2 separate regions of the Homo sapiens genome follow, and region 2 is linked to region 1. Evidence: promoter capture Hi-C in human tissues and cell types (Jung and others, 2019). All regions are on one chromosome and are shown on one strand. The core of a region is centred on a gene start or on the middle of the fragment in contact, and the rest is flanking DNA. Distances in the headings are between cores, read along the strand shown.

Region 1 (4,394 bases), core at 1,758-4,257:
TTTCAGATTTGGAATGCTCGACCTGTTTTAATTTTGGGATCCTGAAAAAGAGGGATATGACTAACAATAACTAGAATAATTCCAAAGCAATCATACCATTAATTTCATTAACTTATTACTTCAATATACTTTAACAAATAAAAATATCTATTATCTGATTCTCAGGTACAGGTGAAAGTGCTGGTAAATCTGAGACCAAAAATACATACATCATTTACTATTATTTTTTTCTTTTTTTTTTTGAGACAGAGTCTTGCTCTGTCACCAGGCTGGAGATGTGGTGGTGCAATGCAATCTCGGCTCACTGCTACCTTCGCCTCCCAGGTTCAAGCGATTCTCCTGCCTCAGCCTCCCTGGTAGCTGGGACTACAGGTGCACACCACCACGCCCAGCTAATTTTTGTATTTTTAGTAAAGACAGGGTTTCACCATAATGGCCAGGATGGTCTCGAACTCCTGACCTTGTGATCTGCCCACCTCAGCCTCCCAAAGTGTTGGGATTACAAGCGTGAGCCACCATGCCTGGCCTCACCATTATTTATCGGCTTTCACCTAAACGTAGCTGATCATCAGAACCACTTTAGCTTTAAAAATTCTGGGCTAAGCATGGTAGCTTATGCCTGTAATCTCAGCACTTTGGGAGGCCAAGGTGGGTGGACTGCTTGAGCCCAGGAGCTCAAATCTAGCCTAGGCAACATAGTGAGACCCCTGTCTCTACAAAAAATAGAAAAAATTAGCAGGCATGATGGCATAGCACCTGTAGTCCCAGCTACTCAAAAGGCTAAGATGGGGGGATCGCTTAAGCCTGGGAAGTCAAGGCTGCAGTGTGCCATGATCTTTCCACTACACTCCAGCCCAGGCAAGAGACCAAAACCCTGTCTCAAAAAAATAAATAAATAAAAATTCTGAGTTCCACCCCAAGAGATTCTGACTCATTAAGTCTGAAGGAAAACCCAGAATCTGAATGATGGTTTGGCACGTTATATTATCATCAGTTTATTATTCTTTGTTTCATTTGTGTACATTTCATTGCCATTAGGATATAAAAAAATCACCTACTTTTCTATTTCCCACAATACTTATTAGACATAAAGCAGACATTACTAATTGCAGAGCACTTAAAAGCCCACGATAATGTCTATGTTTGTGTGTAACAAAACTAGTTAACGTAAAATCCACATACTTTGGAAAACATTTTTTGGTTACATCTCTGCTTCCTTACACATTCAGAAATCCAGAAATGCAAAGGCCTTTTATTTTCACATTGCCTTATGGGTTTTTACCTGATAATAACATGTTCTCAATGAAGGGCTACTAGAGTCCAGTTCACAGCTCCAGAACTCTACTAACACGTACTAATCTCTTTCCCTCTCGAATTCAGACAAAAGAAAAAAGAAAGCCCAGGTGTATTAAATCCCGGCCCACTACCAAGGTTCTTAGGGAGAGCCAAGTTTTCTTTAAACTCTCCTGGTATCACGTCTTATATCTCCTCCTGTGCTACTGGGAAAGTAACATCTTCAATTTGTCACCACAGGCAGGTCTAATAAACCAAAAGAGAACAAGCTCCATACCTTTGTGTCTCTTGCTTTTCTTTTTTCTGGAGACAGTTCTCTCATGGATGCTTTCCTCCTGGGCATCCATCTCATCACTGCTGTCGATGATGTCACAGGGCTCACCAGCCCCAGAAAGAGCTTCCTCTGCAGGAACCTGAGAGGCTTCCAAGCCACAAAGAGATTTTACTAGAAGAAAATAAAAGGAGAATGAGATGGCACACAGCTCCACCCAGAAATACAAACAACTTAGCCAAGGTATCAGCATCCATTCAGGAAAGGGGGGAAAAAAAACATCGTTGAGAGAGAAAGGTGAGAATCTGTCACCAAAAAAAATAAAGATTTTAGTATTTTAAATACAAAAAAAAAAAAAAAAAAGGAAAGCAATGGGCAAACTGACTCCAAAGTTGCAGAAACTCCTTTTTTCAGCCCTGAAGAAAAAAGGTGTGTACAATTTTTCCACTATAAACCCTGCAGGATAAAAGCTGATTTGTATTCTCATAAGGTCTACAGAGAAATGTTTGAGACAAATTGAATCCAATTTAATCCTGGTCCTGAGCTGGAGGCAGTAGGTGTCATAAAACACAAGTCTCAGACCCATGAGTAAACAGACTGAAAGCAAGAGAAACACCAGAAAAGGAAAAGAACACTCCAAGGTTATTAAACAAGGAAGCAAACTGCAGAGTAAAACATGTGAACTACAGCAAAGAGATTAATAACCAAGAAGAATGCAGTGGAAACTAAAAAGTATGCAAACATGTTTTTAAATGCAAAGAAAGAAAGAAAATATTTCTGCTACAGAAACTGCTACTCTTGACTAATCCTCCTCCACCCCAATATGTAAGTTAACACTAACGAAAGCAAACACGGTTACAGGAAGACGACTAAAGGACTGCAAGAAAAACAGAAATAAAATACCTAGTTCTGTCTTCGCGGCATGAGTCTTTAAAGGCTCGCGCAAAGCTTACCTTCCTGCTGAACAGCGTTGGCTACGGCTTTCTTGACTCGTCCAGACCTCACGACCGCCGGATCCGAGTTGGCGTAATCCGCCACGGTCACTGCAACACAGCACCAACCCTCAAGGAAGAGGCCTTCTCTCGTCAGCGTCTTCCCCGCCAACACCTCCTCCTCGCTGCAGGCCCCCGGACCGAGCCGCCCTCCAGCCGCGGGCACGCGAGCGCTCACCTCGGCACGGTCCAGCCCCCTCCCAGCCGCCAGCCCCCAAAATGTTTCAGCGCCCCTGCCCCCCTCGCCCACCTCGGCCGGAGCAGGCGTCGTGGGCCCGGAACTTGAGTCGCTTTCCTCTCTTGGGCATGGCGACCGTATCGGGGCGAGGCCTGCCTAGCGGGCCGGGCCCCCGGGCCATGTCTCCGGCCGGAGAGCCGGCCCCGGGAGCCGCAAGCCAGCTCCGCCCGGCTCCGCGGCCATCCCACACCGGAGGCCGCTAACTCTCGCGAGAACATAGGTCCGGGTTCCGAGTCGCGTTGTCGGACGACGCCTCTCCACGCGAACCAATCATCGCCAGGTGCAAGGATACGTCATCATCCGGCACCCGCGAATCAAGCTGGGTCCGGGTTCCAGGTGGAGAGAGAGCTGTTGTACTGGGTGGTGTCGCGTATCGCCGTACCTCGTGTGAGATGAATGGTGTCTCAGAACCATAGCCCACACCTGTGTTGATTAGAATTGAGAGTTTACATCCTGGTCTCCGGGATTCTTCTTAGTAACTCCTCTGTCCACACTCCAGGTCCACTTCAGCACCAAAATGCATATACACTGTCATCTTCGTGCTCTATCTCGGACCACAGAGACTGAGCGCCTGCTAGTCTAACATAGGTCTGTAAGAGTCTTCACTCTATTTTACGAAAGCTATAAATAAATTTCTGAATTCTCAAAATAGGAGAAGGAGTTCTTAAAAGCTTCCAATCGGCCGGGCGCGGTGGCTCACGCCCCTAATCCCAGTACTTTGGAAGGCCGAGGCGGGCGGATCACGAGGTCAGGAGATCGAGACCATCCTGGCTAACACGGTGAAACCCCGTCTCTACTAAAAATACAAAATATTAGCCGGGCGTGGTGGCGGGCGCCTGTAGTCCCAGCTACTCGGGAGGCTGAGGCGGAAGAATGGCATGAACCCGGGAGGCGGAGCTTGCAGTGAGCTGAGATCGGGTCACTGCACTCCAGCCTGGGCGACAGAGCAAGACTCCGTCTCAAAAAAAAAAAAGTTTCCAATCTATCACCATATAAGGTTAGCCGAGAGAAAGGACGAAAGAGAGACCCAAGGTCAGCCGAGGAAGTTTATTAACCTGACGGCTGCTCCACCACAGACAGAGGAGGCACCCCTGAGCTTACAAAATGAGGGGTTTATATGGGGGAGAGAGACCCTGGGGTTGTTTGCTGGTTAATTTTGCCACATATTAGCTTGTGACGTTTATTACAGGAGGGTGTAGGTAAAGTTTGTTTATGCTTCCCATCACCTTCCCCTGTGCGGTCCGGATGATTTGTAATTGGGGTTTGTTTATTGCAGCAAGGTCTGATAAGTGAAGTCTGCTGGCTTCATAAGGACTTAGAAGTGTAAAGAGGCTTGGGGGAAGGAGAAGAGTTGCAGAGCATTAGGGGGAGGAGTGAGCAGCACGGAGAGGTTTGGGGGAAGTGTCGGCAGTACCAAGAAGCTTTTTGGGGCAGTTTGTTCCTAACACACCATACCTCCAAAAAACTACTAGAAGCATCCATGAAAAACTATCGCAGAGGCAGGAAGGTCACTTGAGTCCAGGAGGTCAAGGCTGCAGTGGGCCATGATTGCGCCACTGCACTCCAGCCTGGGCTACAGAGCGATACCCTGCCTCAAAAA
Region 2 (4,694 bases), core at 1,632-4,131, 290 kb before region 1:
TAATCTACACAAAAATTTTAATTCTTCAGATGGAGAAAAGAAAGCCATGAGATGAAAAAAAGATGTCCAAAGTTACACAGCTACTTAGTGGCAGGGCTAGGACTAGAACCTAGATCTCCCACCCAGCCTAGGGCCCTTTCCATTAGGCCAGATTCCCATCATGTGACCCTGGCTTTATTCATGTATTCACTTACTCAAGGAATATGTATTGGGTTCCCCTGGGAGCCAGCGGTGGACCATGGTGGGTTTGGGAGTTGGTATCAGCATTCCAAGTGTCTATCTGGGGGTGAGGGCTGGAGGCTGAGTGCGTGAGATGGCCACTTGGAGACACAGAGGAGCCCAGGAGCAGAATGAGTTCAGCTACTCACATAGAAGTTGATGTTTCATCAGGTGGTAGCAGGAATTTAGAGTACAGAGAAAGGCCCTAACCCTCGCAGGGCAAGATCTTTAGTCAATGAGAAAGAGCGGCCGGGAGGGCCCATGTTGATGAGACAGTGGGATAAATGAACTTCGGAGAAAGGCATGAGGAATGATGGCAGGGAAAGGCTAACATAGAGCAAGACACATTGGTCCCCACTGCCTCATTCTGAGGAGTGTTGGGTGAGGCAGAAAAACAGGCTTCTCTTGACACAGCCTGTTTGAGGGAATGCCAGGAGATGGAGAAAATGCTTGGAGGGGTGAGGATATAGGGGACTTTTCTGGGCCCAAAGGGGGCTCAATGAAAGGGTTTGGAAAGGAGGGTGGTGAGAGTTAGACTACCACAGAGCACACCCACAGTGGAATGGGGATGAGAACATGTGTCCTTCGGACAGTGACCAGCATCCATAGAGGGAGTGAGGATTTTAGTCTTGTCTGGGCCTTGGAGGTGGCAACCAAACACAGGGTTCTAGGAGAGAGGCCTGGCAACTGAGACATGAGACCCAGAGTGCTGCACAGGGCAGAGAAAGACAACCTCCAGGGAACTTCCATTTCTGCTGTCAGGGGCCAGCCACTGCCTTGACGACTGCAGAGTGGTCTTCGTGTCTCGGAGGGACAGGGCCTCCAGGGTCCTGGATGCAGGCTGTGTGCTCCCCTAACTCACCTCTTCATCCTCTCCATGTTACTCTGCATCGCGTTGGCCCACACAGGCCCACTCTCCTGCTGCTGGGAGGGAGGGGCTGGAAAGTGTTAGGAATTCATCAAGCTTGTAACTAAAGCTGACTCTATGCCAGGCCCCATCTGGGGAAGGAATCTGCTCCCCCCAAAGGCATGTATTCCCCTGAGGGTTGCTTCTCAGCTGCTGTGCTCTACTAACCCAGTAGTGTCTGTGGGAAGATGAATGATCTGGGCTTCTCACCCTCCTTTGCCACCCTGGCTGTGTGGTCAGGGAAGGGTGAAGGCAAGAAGGATGGCGGAGGGTACAGGAGAGACAGTGAAGACGGGATGAGGTGGGAGCTGGGGAAGGGGAAGAGACGTGGACAGATGGCCAGACCAATATGGCTGGAAAGGTCCCTAGTGATGTGTTTTTGTTTCTGCGACTCCCTCGGTGTATCAGGAGCAAAAGGATGGGAACGATCTGCTAAAAGTCTGTTATCCTGGAGGCCCCCCAAGAATGTGACCTCCCACACCTTCTCCCTCTAGGCCTTCTCCTATGGTACGAGAAGGTGTGACTGAAAGTGCCAGAAACTCACAGGGGAACACATGGACTTGGGACAGAAGCAGATCTGAAGCTGAATTTATTGCCTCTTTCCCAAATTTAGAAGACAGACATGTTGTAAACCCTCCTCATCCTCACTCCCAGGGGCCCAGGATAAACCCCCTTTATCTCCAGACAAAAAACAAGAGAAGAGGCCCTGAACCTATTGGAGCTTCCCCAGATGTTGTTTTGGCAGAGCCGTAATGGGGCTGGGCCTCCTGGGGCTGAGTGTCTGGGGCAAGCAGGAAGCTGGCATCACAGCTGTGACAGCCAGAGACCACCTGGGGGATGGGGGCTGAAGGGAAGAGGAAGACAGATTCAGAAAGGAGGACACAAGAAAAAGTCTAAAGAAGAGGTACTGCAGCTTCTCACCTGTGGCCTCCTGGCTCTGGGCCTGAGGTACTTCTCTACTGCACCATGGGTTCAGGTCCAGGGATCCGTGTGGTTTGGAGGAAGGAGCTAGGAGAAAGGGAGAGATGGTTGGAGTTCCCTGAGCCTTAGTTTGCTTATATGTAACAAAAGAGTATTGGGCTAGGAGACCCACCCTGCCTCTTAATCTGTCATCTATGGTTCACATTGATGACTCCTTGGGTCCTAGTGGAATACGTGATCACCTGCCAGCAAGAGAGGATTTTCCTGATGAGGTGACAAGATATCCTGGAGCCCTACTTCCTGAGCGGATCCCATATCCAATTACTGGCCCAGTCCTGTCAGTTATCCTCTTGAAATACCTTCTACTCAGCATCACTGAAGCCACCAACTGTTAGATCGTTCTTGGATAGTTTCAACAGTTCCCTAAGTGGTCTCTTTGCCTGAAGTGCTTCCCTTCCTGCCCTTTCCTCAGTCCATACTCTGCTGTCAGAGCTCCTAAACTACAGGTCTGTCTTGTCTCTTTCATGTTTAAAAGCTCTGAAGGCTCCCTACAGTTGAAAGTTTAATTCTTGGTTTGGCCTTCAAGGCCTTTACAATCTGGCCCAACCTCAAAGCTCAATTAACCCATTCTCAGTGTTTCTCAAATACATACTTTGCACTTTCATACCATTGTGCCTTTGTAGTTTCAACAGTGAGGTCTTGCCATGTTGCCCAGGCTCTGGAGTGCTGTGCTTACTCACAGGCATGAACATAGCTCCCTACAGCATCAAACTCCTCACCTCGAGTGATCATCCTCCCTCAGCCTCCTGAGTAGCTGAGTGCCCAGCTTATTGTACCTTTACTCATATTATTTGCTCTGCCTGAAATTCTCTCTGTTCAGCTCTTTGTCCATCAAAAAGCTGACTAATTATCTCCGTGCAAGTGATACAGAAGGAGTGAAAACATTATTTTTCCCACATTATTGAAGAAAAAAGTAAGGAACATATAGGGCAATGGACATGTCAGGAAAGTCTCTAAAAAGGGGGCTGGGGTAGTGGGGTGAGAGTGGGCTAGGGAAGGGTGGGAAAGGATTCTAAATCCTACTTCCTCCATCCCTTCCACTAAGAATAAGGTTGGGGAGGAGTGGAAAGGAATCTTTATTTAGATTAAGAATGGGTGGCCTGAGCTGCTTGTTATGATATATTAGTCTTTTTTTTTGAGACAGGATCTCACTCTGTTGCTTAGGCTGGAGTATAGTGGCATGGTCTCGGCTCACAGCAACCTCCATCTCCCGTGTTCAAGCTATTCTCCTGCCTCAGCTTCCTGGGTAGCTGGGATTACAGCTGTGCGCCACCACACCTGGCTAATTTTTGTTATTTTTAGTAGAGACGGGGTTTCTCCATGTTGGCCAGGCTCGTCTCAAACTCCTGACCTCAAGGGATCTGCCCACCTCGGCGTCCCAAAGTGTTGGGATTATAGGCACCTGGCCTTATATCAGTCTTGTTTTGATGATGACTGGCTCCGATGGCATATAATTATGCTTTTTTACATTGGTGTCCCTGGATGGGCTAATTAAGTTTTTGAACTGACGGATTTGTTCTAGTGCGATGGGCAGAGCACATCCCTTAAAGCCACACTGCTTAGGTTCAAATCCTAGCTGTGCTACCTTAGGCAAGTTATTGAAGCTTTCTGTGCCTTAATTTCTTTATCTATAAAATGAGATTAATAGTAATTCTTACCTCTTAGAGTTGTTGGGAGAATCAAATGAGTTTACAATACTTAGAATAGTGTCTGGCACATAATAGTGGTCAGTACATGTTAACTATTATTACTTATAATTTATACTTTGCTTACTTCCAAGAAGAATTTGAGACAGCTTAAAATATTAAACCACATAGAGGATGATTTTATGTGTGTGTTTATATTATATTAAAGATCAGAAACGAATTGGTAGTAGGAGGAAGAAAGAGAAAGATAGATATTTACAAACTTGTTTGAATCAGATACTTCTTTGACACCTAAATTTATCTTTGAACTTCCAGGAAGCCAAGGTAAAAAGGGAAATACCTGCATTATATAGTTTTCATTGTGAAATATAAAAAAGCATTCAAGTTAGCCTGTTAAAACCCACCCCCACCAGCCCGCTACATCCACACATTCCTCAAGAAGAAATTTATGATATGAATCCCTATGTTGGAATACTGGAGCCAAAGAGTCTGAAGTTGTTCTCAGTTGGCATTTAGTATCTTCCTCAATTGGGTTTACCTTTCATAAGAGCCCATAACGACAACAGAAGTAATCAGGATAATGGCTGGGATAGTAACAATCAATATCATCTCTACATTTCTTTCTATCCTTATTTCAGGGTTTCCTTCCTTCCCTCTTGGCTCAGGAACTCTCTGAGGTCAGGGGTTGAGCCTCGCTCGGTCAAATAGTCAGGTGGCCCCAGGTGGTTTCAGCTGCCTCCCTGAAGCATTAGAGTTGTGTAGAAGCAAGGTGGAACCCATGGCAAAAACTCATGAGGTGAATGGAGACAGGAAGGTTATGAGGTATGTCTAAGAGGGCTTTGAGACGATTGAGCTCCCAAACATGTAACAGAATGATTATCTTAGTGGGAATGGGTAAGCTCCTAGAAAGAGAACAACTCTGTGTCCCCTATTTTTTGAAT

The links. The method cuts DNA at HindIII sites, captures the fragments that hold promoters and counts their contacts. A contact is called where the count stands out against the background at its distance.
Region 2: a contact is called between a fragment that was not itself captured here and the fragment with the promoter of TMEM183A in region 1, in 1 of the 25 tissues and cell types used here (dorsolateral prefrontal cortex).

Annotation. Positions count from the first base shown.
Region 1 is chr1:203,005,987-203,010,380 of GRCh38, reverse strand. TMEM183A (transmembrane protein 183A) reads right to left here and starts at 3,007. Exons shown (of 8, transcript NM_138391.6): 1 at 2,807-3,007; 2 at 2,518-2,607; 3 at 1,571-1,738. The coding sequence starts at 2,915. It also overlaps the pseudogene MGAT4FP. RefSeq lists enhancers at 2,108-2,880, 2,881-3,655, 3,659-3,788, a silencer at 2,699-2,948 and a cis regulatory region at 4,329-4,394. The HindIII fragment of the contact is 3,668 bases long and covers 173-3,840 here.
Region 2 is chr1:203,293,216-203,297,909 of GRCh38, reverse strand. No RefSeq gene overlaps it. Among named protein-coding and RNA genes, the nearest start is that of LINC01353, 8.4 kb to the right of the region's middle. RefSeq lists an enhancer at 1,050-1,551. The HindIII fragment of the contact is 5,946 bases long and covers 1-4,694 here.